3 separate regions of the Homo sapiens genome follow, and all the other regions are linked to region 2. Evidence: promoter capture Hi-C in human tissues and cell types (Jung and others, 2019). All regions are on one chromosome and are shown on one strand. Each heading gives the region's core, a stretch centred on a gene start or on the middle of the fragment in contact. The rest is flanking DNA. Distances are from core to core; before and after follow the strand shown.

The links. The method cuts DNA at HindIII sites, captures the fragments that hold promoters and counts their contacts. A contact is called where the count stands out against the background at its distance.
Region 1: a fragment that was not itself captured here is called in contact with the fragment with the promoter of CPA6 in region 2 in 3 of the 25 tissues and cell types used here (H1 embryonic stem cells, bladder and thymus).
Region 3: a contact is called between a fragment that was not itself captured here and the fragment with the promoter of CPA6 in region 2, in 2 of the 25 tissues and cell types used here (H1 embryonic stem cells and dorsolateral prefrontal cortex).

The regions. Positions count from the first base shown.
Region 1 is chr8:67,563,186-67,566,259 of GRCh38, reverse strand. All of the region lies in intron 2 of CPA6 (carboxypeptidase A6), which reads left to right. All of the region lies in intron 2 of LOC105375886 (a long non-coding RNA gene), which reads right to left. Among named protein-coding and RNA genes, the nearest start is that of CPA6, 180 kb to the left of the region's middle. The HindIII fragment of the contact is 4,828 bases long and covers 1-3,074 here.
Region 2 is chr8:67,745,011-67,748,071 of GRCh38, reverse strand. It overlaps CPA6 (carboxypeptidase A6), which reads left to right and starts at 1,712. Exons shown (of 11, transcript NM_020361.5): 1 at 1,712-2,058. The coding sequence starts at 1,943. RefSeq lists an enhancer at 1,386-1,886. The HindIII fragment of the contact is 6,623 bases long and covers 1,038-3,061 here.
Region 3 is chr8:67,544,673-67,547,374 of GRCh38, reverse strand. All of the region lies in intron 2 of CPA6 (carboxypeptidase A6), which reads left to right. Among named protein-coding and RNA genes, the nearest start is that of CPA6, 200 kb to the left of the region's middle. The HindIII fragment of the contact is 5,580 bases long and covers 1-2,702 here.

The DNA of each region.
Region 1 (3,074 bases), core at 231-2,730, 180 kb after region 2:
TCAGGACCAATAGTGTTATATCCAAACAGCATTATCTTTGGAGGAAGATGTTCTTCTGCAGGAAAACTAATGACTAATACTATTGAAACGACAATGGGAAGAGAGGAGAATGCCAAACAAAAGAACACTGGAGAATTGGCTATTATCTCCTCTGAGACTTGAGCTATTTATCCAGAGGTGAGGATTTGCTTTTGCCTTGGAAGCCCCTTCAGAAACCATTTGAGTGTCTGGCAAAGAAATGAAAATCATGAATCAGCTGTAACCATTTAGGAGTGAAATTCTCTCTGAAAATTTAATTTGGTCTTGGCAACAGAAAGGATGTTTCCCTTGTCATGGTGACCCTTGTTATCCAAGTATTTGCAGGAGGCATTCTCCAAAGTGGCATACGAGGAGTCTGATATTTTTTTGAAAGCTTTTTCAAAGTGAAGATGACATCTCAGAGAGATCTCATCTTCCTGAGAGTCAAGGTGCTGAGACAAACTGACATTACAAATAAAACCACATTTCAGAGTAGAAATTGATCCATACCAACTAATGACCTGCTCATTCTATTTTCTCTTGGGAAAAAAACTAAACAGTTTGGCAAGGAACTATCCTTGACTATGCAGTCCTAAAGGTCTTTTTCAAGGTAGTTTATCCTGTAAGAAGTGAAAGAAGTGGTATTTTGTGATGGTGATTTGGCTGCACGTCCATTGCCTGCTCTGTTGTTCTGTGTCTGTAGTGACTTGTGCTAGTCATGCACCTCAGACAGTGCAAGGTGCTTCCTTTGATCTATCATGTCAGCAGTGGGAGAGGTCCTTAGCCTAACAGAGGTCTGACTAAAAGAACAGCCTTCAAAGTGAGTGTCATTTTCAGAAATAACCATGCTCTGCCAGATCTGTATGGGGTTTTTTAATCGCATGCTGCTGACAGAACGTTTCTTGTCATTTTTGTTTTTCTGCGTCCCATTATCCTCTTTTTCTTTCTCCTTTGAAGTATTTACAGACAGTCTCAATCTCTACAACTGGGTTTTGAGGAGGATTCTGCAGCAGTTTACAACATACCTAACAACAGAGCAAGATCCTAAAAAACAACAACAAAAAAAAAAAAGAAAGAAAAAGAAAAACGCTGTGGCATAGTCCCAATTCTTGCTCTCTCATTGCCTCCCACCTGCTCTCCATTATCCAATATATTTGTTTTCGGGTCATGCTGATTTAGATAGCCATCTCTAGCTTTAATTCAGATGGCGTAACTGATCCGACCACATGTTACATACTAAATGATCTAGAAGACCACGCTGCGGTTCTCAGTTCATCTTTCAGTAAGCATGTTTTGACATTGAGTCAAATAATCCTATGAAAATCCTTTCATAAGGATTATTTGTCATAACGATAGTGTTATCTTTTGTTGTTTGCAGCTGAATGTTTTGATCATTGTTTAATTGGGATAGACATATTGTCACATTACAGATCATTTTACATAAAAAGAAACCACAGAAATCTATCAGCAATATTAATCCCTAATTAAAATGCATTGACATCATACTTAATGTATGAAAAGAGCTGAATTAAGCCTTTTTAAATTAGAAAATTCACTTTAGGCAGAAATAGTGGCTGGAAACATAGACATTTTTCTCTTCTAGTGGACAACGATGAGTATAATTTTACTGGTATGACAGCTACAAGAACATTCTGTGCCTTTGATTCAGCTCTGTACTGCTCTTCCTATGACCTTGAGAACTCACTTGTATAAGAATTCAGTTTTGTAAAAGGATATATTCTTGAGTCACAAGTAGGAGGCCTGAATTAAATAAGCTAACACCTTAGATGTAGTTCTCTATATCCAAAACATAAAAAAAAAAAAAAGAACACTTTTAATCGTCGCTGCTCAGCTTGCATCCCAGAGAAAGAAATAGAAGCACAGGCTGCCAAAAAGAAACCCCAAACAAACAAACAAAAAAAGCTTTAGGAGCATCACAGGCAGAGACTAGAGAGAAAAATCTGGGTTTTACCACTATAGACCTCTCCAGGAAATGGCAAACTTTAATCCTAGAACCAGAGACCAGTTGCCTAGTGCTTTCTGTTTCCTATTCATGGATTTTGTCTTGCCAACAAGATGATAAACTCTTCTGGGGCAGTGATGTCATTTTTGCAATGCTAAGCACCTATCATGTGGCAGGTGCCCTTCCACATCCTGGATATACAGCTGTGAACAATTTATGCAAAGTCCCTTCCCCAGGACCTCCTAACATCCATTCAGTGGAAGTATATTAGGACCAGTATATAGCACTGTGAAATGTTCTTCCATATTGAAACCTTTGAAGAGGCAACTTATCAATGAGCTACACGTACCCCAAAATATGGAATAGACTTGCAGCCTAAGATGACTGCTTCAGTCATGGGAGTGAGGGAAGGTGGATAAATAATTCTAACTGTGACTCATAGAATGTGGTAGAAATCAGTAAAATTAGTATCAAGGACAGCCTTGAAGGACATGGACTAAACATGCAGATTTGCAGATTTAAAGAGAAAGCATGAGAAAAGAAGTTGGAGGGAAGTGGCCTTCCTAGGGGAAAGGAGTGAGATTTTAAGGCTATACAATCTCAGATCTTTTTGTATCAATCAATCGTCCCTGAGCCCCACAGCCTACTTTTGTGTAAAGGTAGTCAGAAGGAGCTGGATATGAGATTCCTTCTCCCTACCCAAACTCCAGATGGGTTGTTCCAACAGCAGGTTTCCCAGCTGAGGCCTCTTAAAGAATGACCTCCCTGAAAGAATTTCAGAGCTGTGCTTTCCCATGTTCTGTCCAAGATTTTTAGAAAAAAAGGTGATATTTAGCTAACCTTCCTAAGTTGTTACAATTTGCCAGTCACTCATGTTCTTTACATATATGATCTCACTTAATACAAAAACCTCAGGCAGTGAATGACGCTGATAATCCCAGGAAGGTAGAGCTCATAAGAAGCAGAACCATCAGTCAAATGCAACCCAGGCAGCTGTCTCCAGATCTGTGTTCTTGATTAGCATGTTTAATTTACTCAGGAACAGTTACTCTCTGTTTTAGTTAACACCAAAACATACATTTTTATGGTTCCT
Region 2 (3,061 bases), core at 463-2,962:
ATGTGGTAATTCCTACAGTAGAGGACATGCCAGGATTTGTGAGGGACACAGAGGAGGCATTAACCAAACTGATGCTGAGAAAGTTGCAGAAAAATTCAGAGCATCATTTCAAATGAAAACCATTTCAGCTGTTTCATGAACCTGACATTGAATCTGTCAAAGGAGTTTTGGTTCAACTCCCCAGGTAGAGAAGATGGGAAAGATTGGGTGCTCTCTCTTCTAACAGGGACTCTGGCTATAGTATTAGAGGGTACAGGAGTTCTTGGCTATGACTCTCCAGGAAGCCTGAAAAGTTTTGTGAGTGTGATGAGGAAATAGTGGCTCACTCTCTGTTTTAGAGCACAACCAGGACTGGGCATGAAAGGTAACAGGAGGCACCCTAGGTGCCTATGCTTATTTAATAGGGCGAGGCACATCCCCTGTAATGGGTTTTGTGGCGTATTGGAATAGGAGCAAGTGGATGCAAATAATAATTTTAAAAAGCTTTCATCATCAACATGGGAAAAAAGAGAAGGAAATGGTTTTCTCCAAGGTTTGCTTGGAAGAAAAAGCAGACCTCATTCTAAAGTGAAGTCTTGCTACTCCAAGTGTGGCTGAAGAGCCAGTGGCACCAGCATCACCTGGAAGCTTCTTTAGAAATGCAGACTCGGCCAGGCGTGGTGGCTCACACCTGTAATCCCAGCACTTCGCAAGGCCGAGACAAGCAGATTGCCTGAGGTCACGAGTTCAAGACCAGCCTGACCGACATGGGGAAACCTCGTCTCTACTAAAAATACAAAAATTAGCTGGGCGTGGTGGTAGGCACCTGTAATCCGAGCTACTCAGGAGGCTGAGGCAGGAGAATCGCTTGAACCTGGGAGGCGGAGGTTGCAGTGAGCCGAGATGGGGACTTGGCACTCCATCCAGCCTGGGCAACAAGAGCGAAACTCTGTCTCAAAAAAGAAAAATAAAAACTCTTAGGCCCCTGTTCCAACCTACGTCAGAGCTGCAGTTTAATGAGATCCCCAGGTGACTTCTATGCATGTGGAGCTCTGAGAAGCCCTGCTCCAGACCAGCATGGTGGTTGAATATTGGAATCACCTAAGGAGCTTTTTAAACCACTGATCCCACCACCACGGTTTCTATTTTCAAGGTCTGGCTCCCTAAATGATTCCAAATGTACAGCCAAGGTGGCAAAGCACTCGAAGGCCTCCTATTCCCCACGAGAACCTCTGAAACAGCAGCAGGTCTGGGTGCTGCTGATGCAGAATGAGTACCAAGATCTCCCTGAAGCCCAATAAAGCCACTGACCACTCCTGTAAGTCAGGAGCAGTGAACTGAAGCCAGCTGTTCGGATCTGGGTGCTATAGGTACCCCCGTGCACGTTCTCATCATGATTGTTCATTGTGCATTTCATTAGGTGGAATCCGTTTAGGAATCTGTCATGGGAGATCAAAAAAACATTAAGCTTGGAATAATCCATGTCTGCTTGTTTAGCCCATCAGACAAATCATTTGCAATTAGGTAGGATCCTCATGCTGAAGAAGATAGAGAAAGAAAGCTTGCACAGAAAAGTTAGAGGCCTCAAGTTGGGAAAGCAAACAAACCAAAAGCAGAGAGGAGTCACCCAAAGGAAGCAGCACCCAGTGAACCCCTGCCGTGAGTCAGCACGAGGGAGGCCCAGCCCTTTCTAGGGGAGCCTGATTAAAGATCAGGCTCAGCTGCTGCTGCTGCTGCTGCTGCTTGTCCCAAGACCAAGTCGTAATAGCAACTTCCCTTCCTCAGCTGCCTGAACTTTTTTTTTCCCTTGTAGCTGGAGAGAAGTGTCACATTTTGCTCACTCTCAACCTTCCTCGCCCACCCCCTTCCCGGAGAACCTGTGCGGTGTGTAGAGGGTGCTGTGAGCCACCTCCAGCCTCGGGTGGCTGCTTAAGTAACTTTCAACTCCTCTCTTCTTAACACTATGAAGTGTCTCGGGAAGCGCAGGGGCCAGGCAGCTGCTTTCCTGCCTCTTTGCTGGCTCTTTTTGAAGATTCTGCAACCGGGGCACAGCCACCTTTATAACAACCGCTATGCTGGGTAAGTGGAGCGACATTCATGCCCTACACAGCTTTGATTTGGATCTGGGGGCTGGTTTGCTCCAGAGTGTGCCTCACTTTTTCTGATTTGGGGGTCTCTGAGTGAATCTGCACACTTTCACGGTCCTCTATATAAAATGTACTCACAGCTCTCTGCTCTTGGCTTTAGCTCACTGAGAGAATGTGGTGGGCTCCAACCTGGCTTTTTATACTTTTTATCATGTGCCAACCTTAGCTGTGGACCCAGGGTTGAATGGGATTCTGTCTTTGGAGTAGCCATGGTCAGTATTTACAGTGTTTGCCTTGGTTGATGCTTGGGGATGCTGTTGTCCTACATGATTTATGACCTGAAAACTAAGCCTTTCTTTACAATTGTATGTAGGAGCGGTGGGTTGAAATTCATCAGTGATTAAGAACTGAGTGTGATTTTTTTTTTGTCTGTGCTTATTAGTCTGTAGAGTGGTTATTAGATTTTTAAATATGAGCAATGCAAATGATTCAACTCAAAATAAGCAGAATAAAAGTAGTCAACTGTAAAATTATGGATAGTTTTTCTGAAGGAAAAACATAGGAGTAAAACAATCAGTTTTGTCCCCCCTCCGTAGGTAAGCATGCTTTCTATATGCCTTTCTTCAGGAGGCAGAGGGCTGGAAGCCGTGTGTTACTATGCACATTCTTATTATCCTGAAGGCTTGCTGTGGTATAGACAGCATGTGATTTGCTCACATATGCAGGGGGTCGTTCTTAGAATCTGGAAATTATGGCTTGCCTGCACTTTAGATCTGGAAAAACCTTAAATACTTCCTCTAGTTCAATTCCTTTTTACAGAGGAGTAAACTCAGTGTCTTACATATTTTTAAATAGGCTACTATCATTCAATAATCACCACCTGAGAAAAGTTTTCATGTAGATCTGGATCATGACAAGGTAGTGTACAGTGTCTTAAAACCAAGTTGTTCTTTTTAGAAATAGTGTAAAAGAGAATTTGTAAGTGTGACCCTGGA
Region 3 (2,702 bases), core at 22-2,521, 200 kb after region 2:
AGGTATAGTTCATTTAAAACTTGGCCTTCGGCCGGGCACAGTGGCTCATGCCTATAATCCCAGCACTTTGGGAGGCCGAGGCGGGCGGATCACCAGGTCAGGAGATCGAGACCATCCTGGCTAACACAGTGAAACCCTGTATCTACTAAAAATACAAAAATTTAGCCGGGCGTGGTGGCGGGCGCCTGTAGTCTCAGCTACTCGGGAGGCTGAGGCAGGAGAATGGCATGAACCCAGGAGGCAGAGCTTGCAGTGAGCCGTGATGGCGCCACTGCACTCCAGCCTGGGTGACAGAGCGAGACTCCATCTCACAAAAAAAATAAATAAAATAAAAAATAAACTTGGCCTTCAGCATCACCTGGGATTTTGTTAAAAACGTAAATTCAGCTGGGTGCAGTGGCTCACACCTGTAGTTCCAGTGACTTGGAAGGCTGAGGCAGAAGAATTGCTTGTGCCCAGGAGTTGGAGGCCACCGTGAGCTGTAATGTGCTACTGCACTCTAGCCTGGGCAACAGAGCAAGACTCTGTCTCAGAAAAAAGATAAAGTAAATCCTCAAGCTAAGCATGGTGGCACACACCTGTAGTCTCTGCTACTTGGAAGGCTGAGGTGAGAGGATTTCTTGAGCCCAAGTTTGAGGCCAGCCTGGGCAACACAGAGAGACACCCATCTCTAAAAATAAATAAATAAGTGTAAATTCCTAGACTCCACCCCTGGTTTACTGAATCAAGAACTCTGGACATGGGGCCCAGCAATCAGTGGTTTAACAAGCTCTTCAAGCTAATCCTGATGTACCTTAAGGTTTAGAAACAGTGGTATACAAGAAACAAAAGCAGTTACATGCGATGTTGAAAGTGCCATAATAAAGATGTCTACAAAGACTATGGGAAAAGGAAGAAACAGCAAATAACTGTCTGGAAAAATTAAGGAAGGCTATACAGAAGAGGTAACATTTGAACCAACCTTGAGGGACAGTAGAGTTTTATTCTTTAACAACAAATCTTTAATGAGCACATGCTATCCTAGTCACTCGGCCAGACTGAGAAAGCTTAATAAACAATCATTTCATAAAACTCACTGAGCAATAATTCAGGGGCAGATTTACCAGGAAGCTCACCAAGCTGAAGCTTCAGGTTCCTACAATTGCCTGGGGCCCTTCCAATCCCGTTTATATTTTTGTAATCATAATTGTGTACTCTTTTTCTTACATTAGACCCCACATTGTATAAGCCTCAGGTTCCCACAAAACCTGAAACCACCTCGCTCTTGACATGTTTTGGGGTGGGAGGGATATAGTAAGGAAGCAAGCAAGACCTTCCAGCAAAGAAACCCATCCTGCCAGGGGATGGAGGCAGAGGGGGATGAGTCTGTCTGTGTGACTGGGAGAGGAGATGATGAAAAGGTGCATGACCAGAGAGCTCAGATGTGCTGTCCAGGAGTTTGGACTTTATCTTCTACTCGATGGATGACAGAGATTTTTCAGTAGGTGGCTGCATTTTAGAAAGATAACAGTAGGCCAGGCGAGGTAGTTCACGCCTGTAATCCCAGCACTTTGGGAGGCCGAGGTGGGCGGATCACCTAATGTCAGGAATTCAAGACCAGACTAACCAACATGGAGAAACCCTGTCTCTACTAAAAATACAAAAATTAGCTGGGCGTGGTGGCACATGCCTGTTCTCCCAGCTACTTGGGAAGCTGAGGCAGAATTGCTTGAACCCAGGGGGTGGAGTGCAGTGAGCCGAGATCACGCCATTGTACTCCAGCCTGTGTAACAAGAGCAAAACTCCATCTCAAAAAAAAAAAAAAAAAAAAAGTAACAGTAGCAACTGTGGAAAGAAACAGATTAATGAAAGACTAAAGCCAGGGACATGAGTCAGCAGCATAATGTAAGAGACCAGGAAGAAAACATTCAAGGTGTAGGTTCAGGCAATGGGGCTGAAGGTGAGGGACATTTCAGAGACAGAATCTACCTGAGAACCAATTGGAAGGTAGACCAGGAAGTAGCATTAAAAGTGGCCGTTAGATTTATAGTTTGGGTGCATTATAATGTGGATAACAAATCTCTTGACTCAAAGAAAAATATGGGAGGAGCATTGGGGTTTATGGAGAAATTAATGAGCTGTATTCTGGATAAGGTGAATTTTTCTACATTATTCTTCTGTCATTCTGAAAACATATATATGAAATTCTAATTTAACTACTTTTTGAAAAGAGCTGCTACACATTTGAAAGAAAAATCACTTCTACATAACCTGGTGCTTTATAATTATAAAATATCATTATTCCAAAAATCCTTATACTCTATAGTCATTAATTAAATTAAAATTTCTTTCTAAAAATATAAAATGGAATTTAAGTATACAGGCAAAAGTCTTTCTTGTTGATAAATTATGAATCAAACAGGCTTTAAAATAATTTGGCCTACTCTTTGATGGCCCCCCAAAAAAATGGATCTAAAATATCTGCAAATAGCTTCTAGGATGAAAAAGGGCAGAAGACTCCCCATGTATATCATTAAGTGAAAGGCAGCTGCGTGGGTAAGAAGGGGGAGTCGCAGTAAGCTCTGCTTGCATCCTGGTGGAAGTTGGGGATTAAGGGAAGAAAGTTTAAGTTGTACGAAAGATATATATATGGCAGAAGCAGCGAATTACATCTGCAATCCACATCAAAGAACAAGAAACAGATTTGGTGCCTTGATAAAATT